Linked DNA regions of Homo sapiens: regions 1, 2 and 3 are each linked to region 4. The links are contacts of gene promoters, found by promoter capture Hi-C in blood cells and fetal thymus (Javierre and others, 2016). All regions are on one chromosome and are shown on one strand. Each heading gives the region's core, a stretch centred on a gene start or on the middle of the fragment in contact. The rest is flanking DNA. Distances are from core to core; before and after follow the strand shown.

Region 1 (4,496 bases), core at 344-2,843, 1.0 Mb after region 4:
GCCATAACAGAGTAACTTAGCGGCTTACAATAACAGAAATTATTCTCTCACAGTCCTGGATAATTGAAATCAGAACCAGAAGTCTCAAGTCAAGGTGTTGGCAGGGCCTTGCTCTTCTGAAGGCTCCAGGAAGTCTGTCCTTGCCTCTTCTAGCCTCTGCTGGGTGTCTGCAATCCTTTGTGTTCTTTGGCTTGTGGCAGCAGAACTCCAGTCTCTGTCTCAACACATGGCCATCTTCTCCCTATGTATCTGTCTTACCGTGCCCTTCCTGTGAGGACACCAGTCGTTGAAGTTAGGGCCCACCCTAATCCAGTTTGACCTCATCTTAACTTGGTAACATCTTCAGAGATACTATTTCTAGATAAGGTCACATTCATAGGTACTAGGAGTTGGGACTTTAACATATCATTTTGAGAGACATAATTCAGCCCACAACAGAGAGCTTTGAACAGAGGGATTGTGATTCAGCTTCTTTTGTAAAAGGCTCCCTGGGCTGCTGTGTGGAGAAGGGACTCTAGGATGGAAGTCCTTTTTATGTGGTTTCTCTGTTCCAGTATCTGGCACTGTCACCCTGAAGTGGCAGCGCCAGCTTTCAGTTATCTAGCTACCTAAACTTTGTGCTGATTGTGACTTTCTCCTCTCCCTAATAAGTATTTTTATTGCTTAGCAACTTCTTCGTAGGTTGCCTAGGGAAGTCAAGTTACTCTGGTAATAGACTGCATGATGGAGCTGGAATTATTGGTAAAATGACATCAGCAAAAAGCTGATTTGGTTTTGCTTTAAATTGATAGCTCCATGCTGTGCTTACCCAGCTGAGAATTCAGCAATACCCTCAACTTGCCCTAGGCTGCATTTTGCCATTGTTCTAGGCAGGGACAACATGGGAATAGGCAAGCTTATATACTGGAGAATTTGTGTGCGACGCATAGCTGTGTAGCACTCTCAGTGATGAAGATAACACTTATTCCTCATAGCTTCCCTTTTCTTCCGTAAAGATTGGCAGATCAGAAGGGAGATTTTGAAGCTTGAAAGAACTATTTGGTGGCCTTTCCATCAAATTTAAATAAAGCTCATAAGACACATGTTAAGGAGCTGTTTGAAAGCCTTTTTGAATTGCCATCAGCTTGGGCGGCCCTTCCTCATCGTTTTGTCAGCTGCTAGACTGATTCATCCCGCCAGATTCTTTGCCAATTGAATAGAGGCCTGGATGACCTAGGCCCCCAAAACCACAGAGACCCAATTGTTTGGTCCTTCCTGTACCAGTGACTCTCACATTTTTTTCATTCTCTCTAAAAGGAAAACTTTTAAATGTTTATGGATCATGAAGGCTCTATGGGGTAGTTCATGAATGCAGACTGTAATTGTAGGGGTAGAGGAGTGTCCAGTCCAGGAAACAACCCTGCATATTATGAAGGCTTTCAGTTTAGGGTCTTTAAACAATAGGATGATTGCTCATCAACCTGGTCGTACCCTGACTTCCAGGGTCCTTGGGTGCAACATCCGGAGCTAGTCCAGAGTACCGCCAATGGCCTTGTCACACATACACAGCAAATGTGCAAAGACAGCCAGAGCACAGGTCTGCCTGGAGAGGATTTCAGTGGGCAGAAAGCCCTTCAGAGTCATTTCATATTGAAGTTTAATTTCTGGGACTGGATAAGTTCCCTTTCTCCCAAAATTATTGATTGTTTTGTTCCTGGTAAAGATAGTCTTTCATACTTTTGTGGTTCCAAGACATGGTTGGACCGCAGTTATAAATTATATAAGACTAAATCATTCTGGAAGAATGATTTACGAGGAGTTAGTCAGGAGTTGGAGTTGAAATATGTAAACATTCTGGCTTCCTGGTACATAATGGCCCTCAAACGTGTGGGCTACATTTACCATACCCATGGCTCCTGTGCTGACTTCTGTATAGTTCTTTGAACTCAGGGAAACATCTAAGACTATTTTGAAATGACTTTTCTTATACTGGAACTGCTTTAGGAACTTGCAGTATCTAAACTCTATAATGACTCTTCCTAAGAGTTGTATGCCAGGAGTTAAGTGGCGGATAAGGTTGTAGATTTTTTTTGAAGCCACATATAGAAGCAGGTTTTAGGCTTACTGGTAAAATAAAACTCTAGCTAAAGATATTTCCTGGAAATAACCAGACTGGTAGCTGTAAAGCTTGGGCTGGTCTGTATTTGCTATCTGTCTGTTTTCTCCCACTAAAGTTGTTTAATGCTGCTGCTGTTGTGGTGGTCTTTCTCTTTGCTGGGAAATATATTGGTGAAGAAACATCCTCTAGGAATGGACTTTTGAGGAGGTACAATCTCAAGTTCATCCTCTGTTTTGTTTTGCTTTGAGACAGGATCTATGTCTAGACTGGAGTGCAGTAGTATGATCATAGCTTACTGCAGCCTCCAACTCCTGGGCTCAGATGATCCTCCTGCCTCAGCCTCCTGAGTAGCTGGGACTATAGGCACACACTACCATGCCTGGCTAATTTTTTGTTTTGTTTTGTTTTTTGAGATAGAGTCTCGCTCTGTTGCCCTGGCTGAAATGCAGTGGTGCGATCTCGGCTCACTGCAAGCTCCGCCTCCTGGGTTCACGCCATTCTTCTGCCTCAGCCTCCCAAGTAGCTAGGACCACAGGCGCCCACCACTACGCCCAGCTAATTTTTTGTATTTTTAGTAGAGACGGGGTTTCACCGTGTTAGCCAGGATGGTCTCGATCTCCTGACCTCGTGATCCGCCCGCCTTGGCCTCCCAAAGTGCTGGGATTACAGGCGTGAGCCACCACGCCTGGCCAGTTTTTTTATTTTTTGTAGAGATAGGGTCTTGCTATGTTGCCTAGGCTGATCTCGAACTCCTGGCCTAAAGGGATTCTCCTGCCTCACCCTCCCAAAGTCCTGGGATTACAGGCGTGAGCTACCATGCCTGGCTTTTGTGTTTGCATGTGTGTTTATGGAGGACTTAGGGGTTGTGGCTTTGTGTAGCTGTTTCAGTCACAAAAACTGCAGTGGGTGCCCTCTGCCCCTTGAGTTTCTCCTTCACCAACATAGCCCCCCTTCCCCAAACACACACACCTTTATCTACAGATTGTTACCTCTCTCTGAGAAAGAGAATCTTAATTAGTGTAGAAGCTCTCACATCACCCTTGGAACAACTCGTTAAACCTCTCCAGTTTGATGTGTTAATTAAATGCCTAGGTATTTCAAACACAAACTGTAGTTCTCTGGACTTTTCCCCAGAATAGAAGAAAAGAGATAAATGGGATCTGTGCACAGATATTTACTGCCTCAGGCCTGTGAGGGAATGCCAAGTTGTTTGTTGACACAATTTTGGTAGTCTCGATCAGAATCAGCAAACTGTGACTCATAGACCAAGCCCTGCCTGTCCTGTTTTTTTGCATGGCCCTGAACAGAAGAATGAGTTTTACATTTTTTGATGGTTTAATGGTGATGTGTGAAAATAATGTGAAATCCAAATTTCAGGGCCCATCAATGGTCACACGATTATGTGAATTTACTAAAAACCATTGCATCATATATTTTAAAGGGTGGACTGTATGGTTTGTGAATTATATCTCAATAAAGTAGTTCTTAAAAAAAAACAAAACAAAATTTCAGGGCCCATCAAGTTATATATATATGAAATATATATTTTGGTAGATATGGGGTCTTGCTATGTTGCCCAGGCTGATCTTGAGCTCCAGGGCTCAAGTAAGTGATCCTCCCACCTCAGCCTCCCAAAATGCTGGGATTTCAGGTTTGAACCACCACTGTCATCCCCATAAATAAAGTTATTGGAATACAGCCATACTCATTCATTCATGTATTGTCTATGGCTGCTTTTGCTCTACAATAGCTGGGTTGAGTACTTGGAACAGAGACCAAATGTCTGGCAAAAGTCTAACATATTTACTATCTTGTACAGAAAAAAAATGTCAACCTACATCTATACTTATTACAATTTCAGTAAAAATACAGAGTTTAAGTAATTTGGGAAAATGGCTTTAAGAATGAAAAGGTGCAAGGTTATACCTGCTGAACAAATGAACTGTGGGCGTGAGGTGCCATTAGTCTAGGCCTGCATGTTCAGGGAAGGCCCAGGGGAGAGCCTGATGTGGCCTGGCTATTTGTCATATTTGCAAAGGGGAAGTGATGTAATTGGTCTGCAATGAACTTGATTTTCAATTGACTCAAAGATCTAAGGAGGAATAAAAATTATTTAAAAAGGAAATTAGGGAAGAATGGGGAGAATATTGGAATCATTTAATAGAAGTACAAACACATAGACTTTTAACTTTTGCCCATTAAATTTTTTTTAACATTTTATTTTCTTAAATTTTTTTTAAAAAAATAGTGATGGGGTTTCACTGTGTTGCCCAGGCTGGTCTCGAACTCCTGGGCTCAAGTGATCCTCCCACCTTGGCCTCCCAAAGTGTTGGGGTTACAGGCATGAGCCAGCCTCACCCAACCCATTAAATGTCTTTAATGTAACTTCGGGTGTATG
Region 2 (4,011 bases), core at 1,137-3,636, 1.2 Mb after region 4:
GTGCCTGGGAGTGGAGGGGCCCGGCCTGGGGATCGGACCCGGGGTCGGGGGGCGCGGCCGCTCCAGGTGTGTGCGGACCGGGGTCGCACCCGAGGCGCGGGGTTTGGCGCCCCAAGCCCTTCTTGGCCCGGGTCCTCTGCCCGGCACCGCTTCCTCCGTGTCCTGTTCGATGGAGCCGTTCCCAGCGTCCCCCCATCCCTCGCCGCCTCGCGCGACCCCGGGTCCCCCAGACGCCCCGAAACCCGCTCTGGGGCGGGCGCTGACCTCGGCGGGCCGGAGCCCTGCAGGCTGGGCGCGCCCGCGGGCGTTCAGTCCTCCAAACGCCTGCAGGGAGGGAGCTGGCTCTCGCTCGTGGAGTTAATGTCGCTTGGAAAGAGACTGAGAGATGAAACTTTTGCTGCAGGTTATAATTTGAAATTTTGACGTTCATGGTATCCTTGGGTCAACACAGCTAAATTTAATGGTGGAATAAAGGTGGGTGGGAGGACGCTCATTTCTCTTGGGTCATTTTTGTAGTAAGAATATTTTGTAAACGATGTGCTACCTTTCTATAGCCAAACCATTCTTAAAAAATCTGTGTTTTTATTGGGTTCGTACTGTGTTAAATCCGGACAGATAATCCCTGCTCTTTTGAACTCACAGGATTATTGTAGGAATTAAATCATTTGTGTGAAATCGTTTTTGAATTGTGAAACTGCCCTTGACTATGTAAGATACTTGTATTGGAGATGCCCAAACATAGTGGAAGCAGATTGTCAGCACGCTGGCGTCTTTCTGGAAACAAGTTGTTTATTTTGGATTTTGTATGATATAATTGTTTGCATGGCTGTATTTTCTCTATCAGCGACAGAGGATGATGGAGAATGGGAGTTTTTACTAAATCATTGATTGAAAGTTATTCAAAGGTGATGATAGAAGATTTCAACGCAGGACTGTTGACCTTCAGGAAACTAATTACTTGTTTTTCTTATCTTTGGCTGCTTTATTTGAAATTAAGTAAATTTGCCCCAGTGTGGAAATGTTGAAACTCTGACAATGTTTTGAATGGGAAGTTGCCAAATTTCTTCTGGTTAAAACTACTTTTCCGGTGGTATTCTAGATGGTTAACACTCACCGATGTTTAAGGTGAAGACGATTATACATCCGGAGTTTTATTAATCTGTGATTTTTTTTTGTGTTTGTAAATGTAAATAAGACTGTATTTTTAAATGTTAATATAAATTGTCAGTCATTACCGACCTGCATTAGGTGAGTGGAATATCCTGATGGTCTTTAACTGTGGTTTTGGCCAGCTCCTCACTTCGGCATGTGTATGCCCCTTCAAAGTTTAGCCACCGTTTATGGAACTCCTATAAACACCACACAGTTGATTGTAGAGGGGCAGAAGGTGACCAAATATGCTAAGCGCATCTGAGAGATGTTGGGGAAGATTTTTAGAGAAAATAATATTTGAACTGGGCTACATCGGTGATTTTTCAAGTAGAATAGTAGATACATTCTAAGCAGAGGAAAGTTTTTGCAAGAGTATGGTGGGGCGGGGGGCGTATGAAAGAACATGACTTTTTAGGAAATGATAAAAATGTCAATATGTCTTCATGCAGACTATAAAAGGGAGGGATGGAAGATCAAACTAAGGTAGGTTGTTACCAGTTGGGAAGAGTCTTCTATGCTGAACTAAGGGGTTTGGACTTCACCCCGTAGGAAGTTCTTTGGGCAGTGGAGGTTTTAAGTAGGGGTGCGACCTAATCTCATTTTCTGTTAAGAAAACGGGCAACACGGTGGAGGATAGAATCTAGGAGGGAGAGACTAGAGGCTGGGACACCGGTTAAGAGGCTTTTGTAATAGTGTGCAGTGAGTCAACTCTTGTTTCTCTCGGGGAACGTTCATACAAAATCAGCTGACCACATTTTTGCAGTATAAGGTGTTTAAAACGTGCACTGAAACATTTTCCAGGATCGAAAGAGGAATTTGAGGTACCAGGCACACGTCAGTTACATTAGGAGTTAATTAGGTTTTATAGGATTTTTACTACCTTTTATAACATTGTCTCAATGAGGAAATGCAGTATAATTTCCAAACAGCTAACTTTCAGTAAACTTTTTTTTTTTTTTTAAACTGACAAAGGTAACTGTGTCATTGTAAAAAATAAGCGGAATCAGGTATGAAACCTCTTCTGATTTTCTAAGGTAGTAATTATGAGGAACAGATTTAGAATTTTTTTTTAAACAAAGACTGGCATTCTAAAGAAAATGACTTTGAAAGCTTACTCATGGTGAGTCACTGTAAAATCATTTGTGTAGTAAGAACTTAGGTCCATACTAATCTCGTTTTCAGATGCCAGCAAAATATTTGAATTTGATATGTTTGTGTTTGTGCCGATAGGAGAATGTAGCCTTTTACATTTAAGAATGATTTGGTTTTCAACCTTTTAAGTAAAAAAGAAAGCATATATAATTAAAATATGTACAAACCTAGTTCCTGGTTTCCAAGACAGTTTTCAAAAAGCACTTGAAGCTTTAACTTACCAAATTTATATTTGCTCTTTGTAAAAAATCTGGGTTTATAATAGAATTTATTATGGAATCCCCCAAAAGATGCAAGCTCTAAGTAACTGGAAGCTTTTTCTTGGGAATATCCGCAAGCTCAAACATATGACATAGCCTCATATTTCTTTTTCCTTTTTGGTATGTAACATATACTGGAGGCTTGGAGTCATGCCATCCTTTTGAGTCAGCGCTATGGAACTGCCTCATAAATGAATGCAGTCCTTTTGTATCTCAGTAGCTAATCCCTCACAGTCTTTTTTTTTTTGAGATGGAGTCTTGCTGTGTCGCCCAGGCTGGAGTGCAGTGGCACGATCTCGGCCCACTGCAACCTTCACCTCCCGAGTTCAAGCAATTCTCCTGCCTCAGCCTTATGCCTGGCTAGTTTTTTGTATTTTTAGTAGAGATGGAGTTTCACGGTATTAGCCAGGATGGTCTCGACCTCCTGACCTCGTGATCCGCCCACCTCAGCCTCCCAAAGCGCTGAGACTACAGGCATGAGCCACCGCGCCCCAGCCTCTCTCACAGTCTTTGAATGGGTCTAATGTGGACCCAACTAAAGTTGGGTAGCACAATGTTGTTTGTATATTGAGAGATTATTGTAGTTTATTTTCCATTTCATGTTGTTATTTTAATCAGATTATTTTCCCTAAGTGATCATATGTGGGACACTGCTTGAGTCACATCTTTTTTTTTTCTTTCTGAGAGACAGGGTCTTGCTCTGTTGCCCAGGCTGGAGTGCAGTGGAACAGTCATAGATCACTGTAACCTCGAATTCCTGGGCTGAAGCAATCCTCCTGCCTAAGCCTCCTGAGTAGCTGGGACTGCAGGGGTGTGTCACCATGCTTGGCTAATTAAAAACTTTTTTTGTGTGTGGAGAGGCAATCTTGCTCTGTTGCCCAGGCTGGTCTCGAACTCCTGGGCTCAAGTGTTCCTCCTGCATCAGCCTCCCAAAGTGCTGGGATTACAGGTGTGAACCACCACACCTGGCCTTAAATCACATCTTTTAAGAGTGAGCTAGGGAACCTTAGAAATTAACTTGGTCCGTTTTAAAATATGCAGTTCTGTTTGTATTTATTTATGTTTATGGTAATGTAAGTATTGTGTTACTAAACCTTACTGGAAGAAAAGAAAATGATATCACCCCCAGACATGTTATAATGTAGGGCAGAACTCAAAGGGAATGGGACGTTCCCTTTGATGAATTGTTCTTTTAATGAGATTTTTCATGATTTAAGTCATTTTAGGATGATTTTAACGTCTTCCTTCTAGTAGTGTAGAATCTTCATATGAGTAGACCCCAGGAGAGCCTGATTCTAATCAGTCTTATTGAAAGGCTGAGAATCCTGTTGTGAAGATATCTTGGGCCTAACCTCCCATCCCAGCCACTTAAGAGAAGTGATTAAGCAGTCTGTGGATAGCAATACAATGAAATACGATTTTGCTATCAAAATGACAAATGTGTAGG
Region 3 (4,550 bases), core at 1,682-4,181, 1.1 Mb after region 4:
CATGAGAGGAGGGTGGGGGTGGGGGTCCCTCTGAGGAAGCCCTGGGAGATCCAGGAATAAGAGAGTGGACATTAGTGCAGGATTTGTCATCTAACTGGGGCCAGGTCCTGGCCAGGGACAAGTGTAGCAGTAAATGGGGCTCCAGTGAAGTATGAGCATCTCCCCGAGTGCACTGATGATGACCTTCCCTCAGCCCAACATGTTCCTGGCCTCCTCCCACTGGTGTCAAACTGTATCCATCTAAGTCCCATTTCAAAGCCCACTCCCTTCTTGAGCTCCCCCACCGTCCCCCCCCACCCCCCATCCCCCATTCAGAGACACATTTCCCTCTTTTTTATTTATTTTTTTTCTGAGACAGGTTCTCACTCTGTCACTCAGGTTGGAATGCAGTGGCATGATAATGGCTCACTGCAGCCTCAAAATCCTGGGTTCAAGTGACCCTCCCATTTCAACCTTTAGAGTAGCTGGGACCACAGGTGCATACCTGGCTAATTTAATATTTTTTATTTTTTGTAGAGATGAAGTTTCCCTAGTTGTCCAGGCTGGTCTTGAACTCCTGGACTCAAGGGATCCTCCTGCCTTGGTTTTCCAAAGTGCTGGGATTACAGGTCGTGAGCCACTGCCCCTGGCTATATCTTGTCCTTCTAAAAGTTGACAGCACTTACTCTCTGTGCCATTCCCAGGGCACAAGCCTGCTTCAGCCTTCTAGAGACACCTGTATTCTCTTGCCACCCAAGGCCTTCTGCTTCTCTTTGCCTCCCAGCATCCAAAACAGTAGTGCTCAGGAAATACTTGTGGCTCTGTGATGGAGTGACTCAGGCAGCCCCACGGGGAGTAGAGTTTTATGAGTTTAATATGAACCATACCCTGAAATCTGAGAAATTTACCTCATTGCTCATGCTGGAAACCCTCAGTTCCAGTCGGATTTGCTTGGAGCTGGATGGAATTGTGTTGCTTTTCATACTGAAAATGATCATCTAATTTTTAAATTTAAAAAACATTTACGTAGCACCTACTTCACGTTCGACAGGAATCTCAACACTTCACAAATGTTAACTCACTGACTTTTCCTAACAGAGGCATTGAGAAGTTAAGTAACTTGCCCAGGGGTCAAAGCCAGTAAACGGCAGAGCTGGGCTTCAAATCCAGGTTCCTTGCTTCCAGAGGAGATGCTCTTCAGTTTGTTCTGGTGCCTGAAACTTACAGATGAGTGGCAAAACCCTCCATGAACGGGGAAAAAAAAGACATTGATGTATTTATTTCAAGGGAAATGTGTGTGTGTGTGTGTGTGTGTGTGTGTGTGTGTGTGTGTGTGTGTGTTTTGCCCATCGTCCCCCTTTTCTTCCTCATTGAAAGCAAAATGCTCTAAAGCAAACAGTCTTTTTTCACACCTGAGACACCGGCGGTGTTCATTTTTGCTTTGGCAATCAAAATGGAAGAGGAAACTTGTGTGGTTTCATCACTGGTGCTTTCGGGGTGTGTGGGGCGGGCTGTCCTTCTCCCTCGGTCCTGGCTCATCGGCCCGAGCCCCCCTCCCCAGGCCTTGTGGCCTCCGGTCGGTCGTGGAGACATAAGAGGCCGCCTTTCCTCTGTTAACACCGGGAATGTGCCCCAGCCTCTCCCTCCTTCCTGCAAATCCAGTCCTTGTCCTGGAGAACCTCAGCGTCTTCTTATGCCTGCCTCTTTCAAAGCCTCGTAGGATTTACACCTGATTAACAACGTTTGCATTAGGATCGCCAGACACCGGCGCACGGCCCCGCAGGCCCGCGCGAATCTTCTACATTTTCATGTTTCGGATGTTGTCCACCTGACTTGATGCATATTCAAATGTCTCTCTCCCGACGTGGGAGGCCGGAGTCAGAACCTGACAGACCTGCCGTTTACTAACTGGGTACCCAGGGCAAATTACTTCACAAGTCTGAGTCTCGGTTTCCTCACCGTGAACCGGACTGGTACCCATAGGTTGCGGCGTGGATCAAATGAGATAGCGCAGGGGCGGGACCCGCGCACAGCAGCTCTCTTAGTTCCTCTTGGCGAGGTTTACGTAGTAACACATGCTTGTCTGTTTCCCATTTTTTCCCAGAGCACCCTCATGCTCTGGGGGCAGGAAGGGAGTCTTCGCATCACACCGAAAAAGTCCCAACGGGCACGGTGTAGGCGCCTGTGGTCCCAGCTACTCGGGAGGCTGGGGCAGAAGGATCGCTGGACCCAGGAGGTCGAGGCTGCAGTGAGCTATGACTGCGCCACCGCACTCCAGCCTGGGCGACAGAGCCAGACCCTGTCTTGATTAAAAAATAAAATAAAATAAAGAAATTAAAGTCCTTATAACCCTGGTTAGAGCGTTCCCGCCCACTGGTCTCTTAGGGCACATTTAGGACAACCTGAAGAAGCCACTCTTCTTGGGACCCTAACCCTTACCCCAACTCCTCGGTCCCCAAAGGCTAAGGGCTCGGGATCCGAAGGAGGCCCAGCTGAGGTCGCTGGGTGGGGCTCTGGGAGGAGGAAATGGGGTTCTTGAGGGAGCTCGCGCTCCAGCTCGCCTCCTCCTGCGAGGACGCCCCCTGCCCGGACACCTGCTGCCCGAGCGAGCGTCGGGGCCGGGCCTCCCCGCGGGGCAGTCTCGGCGCGCAGGTCCCACCTGCCAGGCGCGGAACGCGGGCGGCCTCGGGCGCAGCCTCCGGGCGCCCCGCCCCCGCCTCCCCCGCGCGGCCCCGGCGCCCGGCCGCACCCCCTCCCAGCCCGCGGCGCCCCGGCACCCCTCTCCCTCCCCGGCGGGCTCCGCGGAGCATTGTACTCACATCCGGGGCTGGGTTTTGCTTTAATGCGAAACGTAATTAACCCGGAAAAAAGAGCCGAGGGACGGGAGAGAAGGAGGGGGCACTGGGGGAGACCAGAGCGAGGGGAGCGAGAGGCGCGGAGAGTTTGGCAGGCAGACCCAGAAATCCCTGGAGCGCGGCGGACCCGGCGGCCGGAGGGGCGACCCCGCCCGATGTAACGCGCCCCGCCCGAGCCCCGGCCCCTGCACGGGGGGGTAAGTTGGGCGCCCTCGCGGGCTCGGGAGTGGAGAGGCGCAGAGGGGCGCGCGGGGGCTGGCGGGGCTGGGGGTGCAGGGGGCGCCCCGGCGGAGGCCTGGCGGCCTAGGGGCGCGAGGGGCGCGCGCGCAGGGCTGAATACGCCGGTCCTAGTGGCTGACAGGCGAGGGGAGGTGGCCGCAGACCCTGGAGGCCTCCTCCAACCCTCTGGGAGAGCCCCGAGGGCAGCCCCTCCTCCAAGTGCCCCGGGTGGCCAAGGTCGCCGCCGCCAGGGGTCGGGCTGCGGGGGGTGGGGCCGCGGAGAGGGTGGGGGCGGGAGTTCTGCTGAGCTGCATTTTCTCACGTTTGCAGCAGCGAAACTTCTCTGCGGGTTCTGGCGCTGGGGCACCGACCCCGCAACGACTGCCCGGGCTGCGGGAGGGGAGGAGAGCAGAGAACGTCCCCAGGCAAGTCCCTTGGGTACGGATTGGGCCATGGAGACTCCTCTTTCACTCCCCCGACTACCTTATTAAATGACAGGCCTAGAAGGCTCCCCTAGGGACTCCTGTCCTTTCCTCTGGGTGCAGCCTGGACTTCGGGCTTCTGGAACTCCAGACAGTGAAAAGGACTGCCCTAAAATGCAGGTTCGGTGCCAGGTTGGGTGAGCCCTCGAGGGGAGCTGTCGTTCTCTCTCTCACCAACTTCTTCCTCACCTTACACGCTTCCCTTTTCTCCTCCAGTCCTAAAGACGATTTCACCAAAATTTTTTTAAAAAGAAAGAGAAAAGAAGGGTGTGGGGGGGGGTGGTGGGAAGCTAGGCCGTTTAGAAGGGAAAAGTGTCCCTGCACGCCCAGAGAGGGGCGCAGGGCCCGCTGCGGCCGGAGCACCCTCACATCTCCTCCCCGGGGCCAGCCCTGCCCCCAGGCCCTAGCCTTAGGGTTTGGCTTCCTTCCTTCTTGGTGAACGCAGGTTCAGGATGTATCTTCCCCTTCTCATTCCTTCTTCCTGCCCGCCCCCTTTCTTTCTTTAGGGCTCCAAGTGGGGTTTTCAGAGGACAGTAAACGGCAGAGAAGAGGGAGGGGAGAGCACCCCACCAGAAAGCCAGCTGTGGCTCTGGGGGCTCTGAAGGCTGAGCTGTAGATGCACTTGGGGCTGAAGTCCCAAGATTGCACTAATGGTGTTCTTAATCTATCTGACCAAGTCCCATTTTCCCTTCTTTTGTCATTTTTTTTCTTTGGTTGCGAAGCCTTCCGAAACAGCAAAGCAAAAGATCTTGAAAGAATAGAAGTTTTTGCTTTCTATTTCAGTTGCATTCAGTTGACATGTATTATACATGCAAGGCAGTGATGAACAAAACACAACCCCTGTCTTTATTTTTTCTTTTTCCTTTACCTCTGGAGGGCTGGACCCTGTCTTTGGCGAGCTTACAGGACTTGTAAGCCCCCCACTTGTTTTGAGAAGCCAGAGTAAGCTTTTAGAAAGCATCATCATCATCTCAGACATTAGCCCTCTTCACCATGTGCCGCCTGAAGGCAGATG
Region 4 (3,947 bases), core at 876-3,375:
GCGTCACTGCACTCCAGCTTGAGTGACAGAGCAAGACTTCGTCTCAAAAAACACAAAAAAGAATAGAGGCCCAATCTAGTAAATGAAGCTACAACTACTTGTTGTCATAGTGACGTAACACCTGGATTATACATTCCCTAGATCTGTGAGGTATTTATGGTTTTAAAATGTTTTCCAAATAGCACATTATTTGAAGTGTTTCATCTCACCCAATCCTTCCTCTACACATCCCATCACCATGATCCCCTCTGTCCTCCCCATCACTCACTGCTGGCTCGCTCCTTCCCACCTGTGTCTCTACAGCAAGCATCTATTATGCTCACACCACAAAGGGCCATTCTGGTCATTTTAAATTTTTTTATCATTTTGGTTGGAGTACAGATGTATCAAGTCTAGAGACATTTTATCTGAACACAATTACTCCTAATGTTGGCAGTCCTAGTTTGCAGATAACCCAGTTAATGTGTACCAGGGTAAATGACCAGAGACTTCCCAAAAAGAAGTCCCTTATTTTAAGGATCTGAGGTTCTGCCTAATGTGACTTTCCCAGAGCAGAAGATGTGAAATTCCATCTCTGTTCCTGGGAGTCTGGGGAAAAACTGTGAGAGGAGAGAGTAAGAATATTGCCCCTTCTTTCCGGAAAGCTCTAATAAACCCCATCACCTCAAGACAAGACCACCTGAAGAACAAACATTAGCCATTTCTCTAATATAATAGCATCCCACTTCATTAAGTTGAATTAATGTTTGAGAAACTTTCAACAGAAATTGCAGCCAAGAGTGCTTTCCTTAACAAAATTGATCTCCTTCTCCTTGCCCGTAGCACCTACTATTTCACCACCTGACTATGTAGCATTCTGTATTATTATTTGTATGGCCTGGCTCCTCATCAAGTTTATAACCATATTGCCCACAGAAGGGGACTCAAGAATCAAACTCAGGGCGTTGTGGTGCCCGTTTGTAGTCCCAGCTATTCTGTGAGGCGGAGGTGGGAGGATTGCTTGGGCCCACGAGTCCCAGATAATCTGGGCAACATAGCGAGACCCCATCTCAAAAAAAGAATCTAACTGAATGTGCTGAGCTCCTGCTAGACCATCTAAAGCTGCCTGTGGGCTGGGCGCGGTGGCTCGCACCTGTAGTCCCAGCTACTGGGGAGGCTGAGGCAGGAGAATCGCTTGAACCCGGGAGGTGGAGGTTGCAGTGAGCCCAGATCGGGCCACCGCACTCCAGCCTGGGTGACAGAGCGAGACTGTCTCAATAATAATAATAGTAATAATCATGCTGCCTGTGTCCCCTGATGAGACAGCACTGGCCGCAGGTGGCCGCTAACCTCTCGAAATAGGGATGGCCCGAATTGAGACATATGCAAGTCAACACTACACCGGGTTTCAGAAACACATACGATTTTCAAAAGAATTAAAATATCGCATTTAGTTTTTCTATTGATTGCATGTTGAAATCTTACTTTGGATATATTGGATTAAATAAAGTATATCATTAAAATTTTTAAGCTTATGTGCCTATGAGAAACTTCCAAATTACACAGTTGGATGGCGTTATATTTCTCTTGGACAGCAGTGGTCTGAAAGATGACAAAAATCACGATACGTTTGAATCACGCCATGTCTTTAGGGAAAAGAAGAAAGAAGAGTTTCCTTTCGTATCGCTTAGGGGTTCCTCGCAAGAACCATCTGACAGAGAAAAGCCCTGGCTCCCGCCCCAGTGGCTTCTAATTCTGGTCCCCGCGCCCAGAAAGCCGGGAACGGGCAAGCCTGGAAAGGCGTTTTGAAAGGAAACAGGATCCCCCGAGTATAGGATGCGTTTCTGCCTCACAAAAGTCCCTTGGGGGTGGGGGGACGGCAGCGGCTGAGGCGCAGGAAAGAGGAGAGCACACGGGGAGTGGCCCTTGGAACCAGGCGCGCAAAACCTCAGCCCCTAGGCTCCATTTCCAGGTTCGCGGGTGACCTCCCCAAGATGGCCGCCGCCTGGGGGCGGGCCTCCACGCTGCACGGGTGTTGATTGGGTGAGACGACTCAATGATGAGCAATGATTGGTTCACACGGCGCAAGCTGGGCGGAACCGGAAGATGGTGTGAGCCACGGGCTGCCGGGGGCCTGGGGCTCGGCGTCGGTCCCCGGGGGATGTGGAGAGCTGGCAGCATGTCGGCCGAGCTGGGAGTCGGGTGCGCATTGCGGGCGGTGAACGAGCGCGTGCAGCAGGCTGTGGCGCGGCGGCCGCGGGTGAGGAAGGAGGCTGCGTGGGGACGGTGGGCGGCCGCCTTGAGAAGAGGGACACCTGCGTGGGAATGGGTCGTCACGGTGACGCAGAGGGGTCTCCCAGAGAGGCGGGACTGGTCGGCCGCCTAGGGCCACCGAAAGGCTAGCGAAGGGTTTCCCCAGCCTCCTTACCTTGAGTCTGTTAGGTTTTCTGGAGATTGGCTTCGTTGGAGCAGAGGGTACCGCTACCTCGGGAAAATGACTTAGTGCCTAGGTGTCGTGGCCACTTGCGCACCGCGTCGTTTCGGGGTCGATAGCCTTGGCGGATGCGAGGGGGGCCAGGCCTGTGCCCACGGATGGTAAGGGGAGACGGGGGTACAAGAGCACCCCGCGGAGGCCAGAGACGCCCGAGATCGCGTGTGTGGCAGCGTCTCACCTGCTAAGTGCCCAAGAAATGCCAGTGCCGCCCGGAGGCCGAGGTGAGGGTGGACTGGCCGGACTTCGCTGGCATCAGAGCGGCACTTGTTTATGGGGCAGGAGGGAGAAGTCCAATCCCAAGCCGGTTAAGGGGAGCTTTCGTCTTTTGTGTATATATATATTACATCCTCTTGGACTTTGATTAGACCAAGAATCAAAATCTGCCCACCTCAGTGCAAGTTTAAGCTGAATGGTGTGGAATGAGACGGACCTTAACAGAGAGGTCACAGGTTTCTCTGATCGAGCATTTATGCTGGCTGAAGACAAGACCTGTATTATAGTCTTTCTTTGACTATTCCTTAGACGTTACCTTGAACAAGTCAGGTAACTATTCCGGCCCTCAGCTCTGAAAGCTCTGAGATCTCTTCTGATGTTAATATTCTGTGATTCTCGGTGATTCTCCAAGAAAAATCTAGGGCTTCCCCTAATAAACATCACCTTGGAGGTTCTCTCAGGGAAACTCTCAGGCAGATGGGCTGCCTGTTCGGGTAACTCTCTGGAAAGCGTCAATCATCAGCATACTCCCAGTAGTCACGACTTGGACTCAAACGAGGCTGGTTACGCATCGCTGTGGAAGGAAGGAAGAGGAGACATTTTTCTAATTGATCTGACTCCGTCACGTCCTTGAGAACACTGTGATTCTGTGAAAACTTCAGGGGATGATGGATACAAGAAGACTAAATCGTGCAAGGATAAACGAATCTCTTCTCTTACTGTTTCTATGTGGATTGGGTGGCAGCAGAACGCATAGAACCCCCGCTCTTTGTATAGTGGTCGTGAGAGGATGTCACATAGGTCTGATCCTGAATCCAGAATTTTTTGTGTCGCAGCCTTAGTTCTGCCACTGGTTCTTTTCTTTCTTTTTTTTTTTTTTTTTGTTGTGTTGTTTTGTTTTGTTTTGTTTTGTTTGAGACAGAGTCTCGTTCTGTCGCCCAGGCTGGAGTGCAGTGGCACGATCTTGGCTCACCGCAACCTCCACCTCCCGGGTTCACGCAATTCTCCTGCCTCAGCCTCCTGAGTAGCTGGGATTACAGGCACACACCACCACACCTGGCTAATTTTTTGTGTATTTTTAGTAGAGACAGGGTTTCATTATGTTGGCCAGACTGTTGTTTTTTGTTTTATTTTGAGACGGAGTCTCACTCTGTCACCCAGGCTGGAGTGCAATGGCACAGCCTCAGCTCACTGCAACCTCCACCTCCCGGATTCAAGCAATTCTCCTGCCTTAGCTTCCCAAGTAGCTCGGATTACAGAT

The links. Contacts are between HindIII fragments. The CHiCAGO score rates a contact against its expected background, and 5 or more counts as called.
Region 1: a contact is called between a fragment that was not itself captured here and the fragment with the promoter of PLPBP in region 4, in 1 of 17 cell types (total CD8 T cells). The highest score is 5.3, in total CD8 T cells.
Region 2: a contact is called between a fragment that was not itself captured here and the fragment with the promoter of PLPBP in region 4, in 1 of 17 cell types (total CD8 T cells). The highest score is 5.3, in total CD8 T cells.
Region 3: a contact is called between the fragment with the promoter of PLEKHA2 here and the fragment with the promoter of PLPBP in region 4, in 8 of 17 cell types (naive CD8 T cells, non-activated CD4 T cells, total CD8 T cells and 5 more). The highest score is 10.2, in naive CD8 T cells.

The regions. Positions count from the first base shown.
Region 1 is chr8:38,789,976-38,794,471 of GRCh38, forward strand. All of the region lies in intron 2 of TACC1 (transforming acidic coiled-coil containing protein 1), which reads left to right. Among named protein-coding and RNA genes, the nearest start is that of TACC1, 5.0 kb to the left of the region's middle. RefSeq lists an enhancer at 3,996-4,290. The HindIII fragment of the contact is 1,142 bases long and covers 1,023-2,164 here.
Region 2 is chr8:38,997,232-39,001,242 of GRCh38, forward strand. All of the region lies in intron 1 of ADAM9 (ADAM metallopeptidase domain 9), which reads left to right. Among named protein-coding and RNA genes, the nearest start is that of ADAM9, 2.3 kb to the left of the region's middle. RefSeq lists a silencer at 1-378. The HindIII fragment of the contact is 252 bases long and covers 2,261-2,512 here.
Region 3 is chr8:38,898,415-38,902,964 of GRCh38, forward strand. PLEKHA2 (pleckstrin homology domain containing A2) reads left to right here and starts at 2,932. Exons shown (of 12, transcript NM_021623.2): 1 at 2,932-3,031. It overlaps LOC124901937 (a long non-coding RNA gene), which reads right to left and starts at 3,031. Exons shown (of 2, transcript XR_007060893.1): 1 at 2,799-3,031; 2 at 836-2,282. RefSeq lists enhancers at 1,344-1,533, 1,594-1,843 and silencers at 2,444-2,853, 2,934-3,603. The HindIII fragment of the contact is 6,068 bases long and covers 1-4,480 here.
Region 4 is chr8:37,760,520-37,764,466 of GRCh38, forward strand. PLPBP (pyridoxal phosphate binding protein) reads left to right here and starts at 2,126. Exons shown (of 8, transcript NM_007198.4): 1 at 2,126-2,239. The coding sequence starts at 2,141. It overlaps LOC124901934 (a long non-coding RNA gene), which reads right to left and starts at 2,745. Exons shown (of 2, transcript XR_007060889.1): 1 at 2,408-2,745; 2 at 1-2,294. RefSeq lists enhancers at 1,675-1,754, 1,855-2,314, 1,892-2,186, 2,495-2,554 and a silencer at 1,814-2,134. The HindIII fragment of the contact is 3,991 bases long and covers 1,509-3,947 here.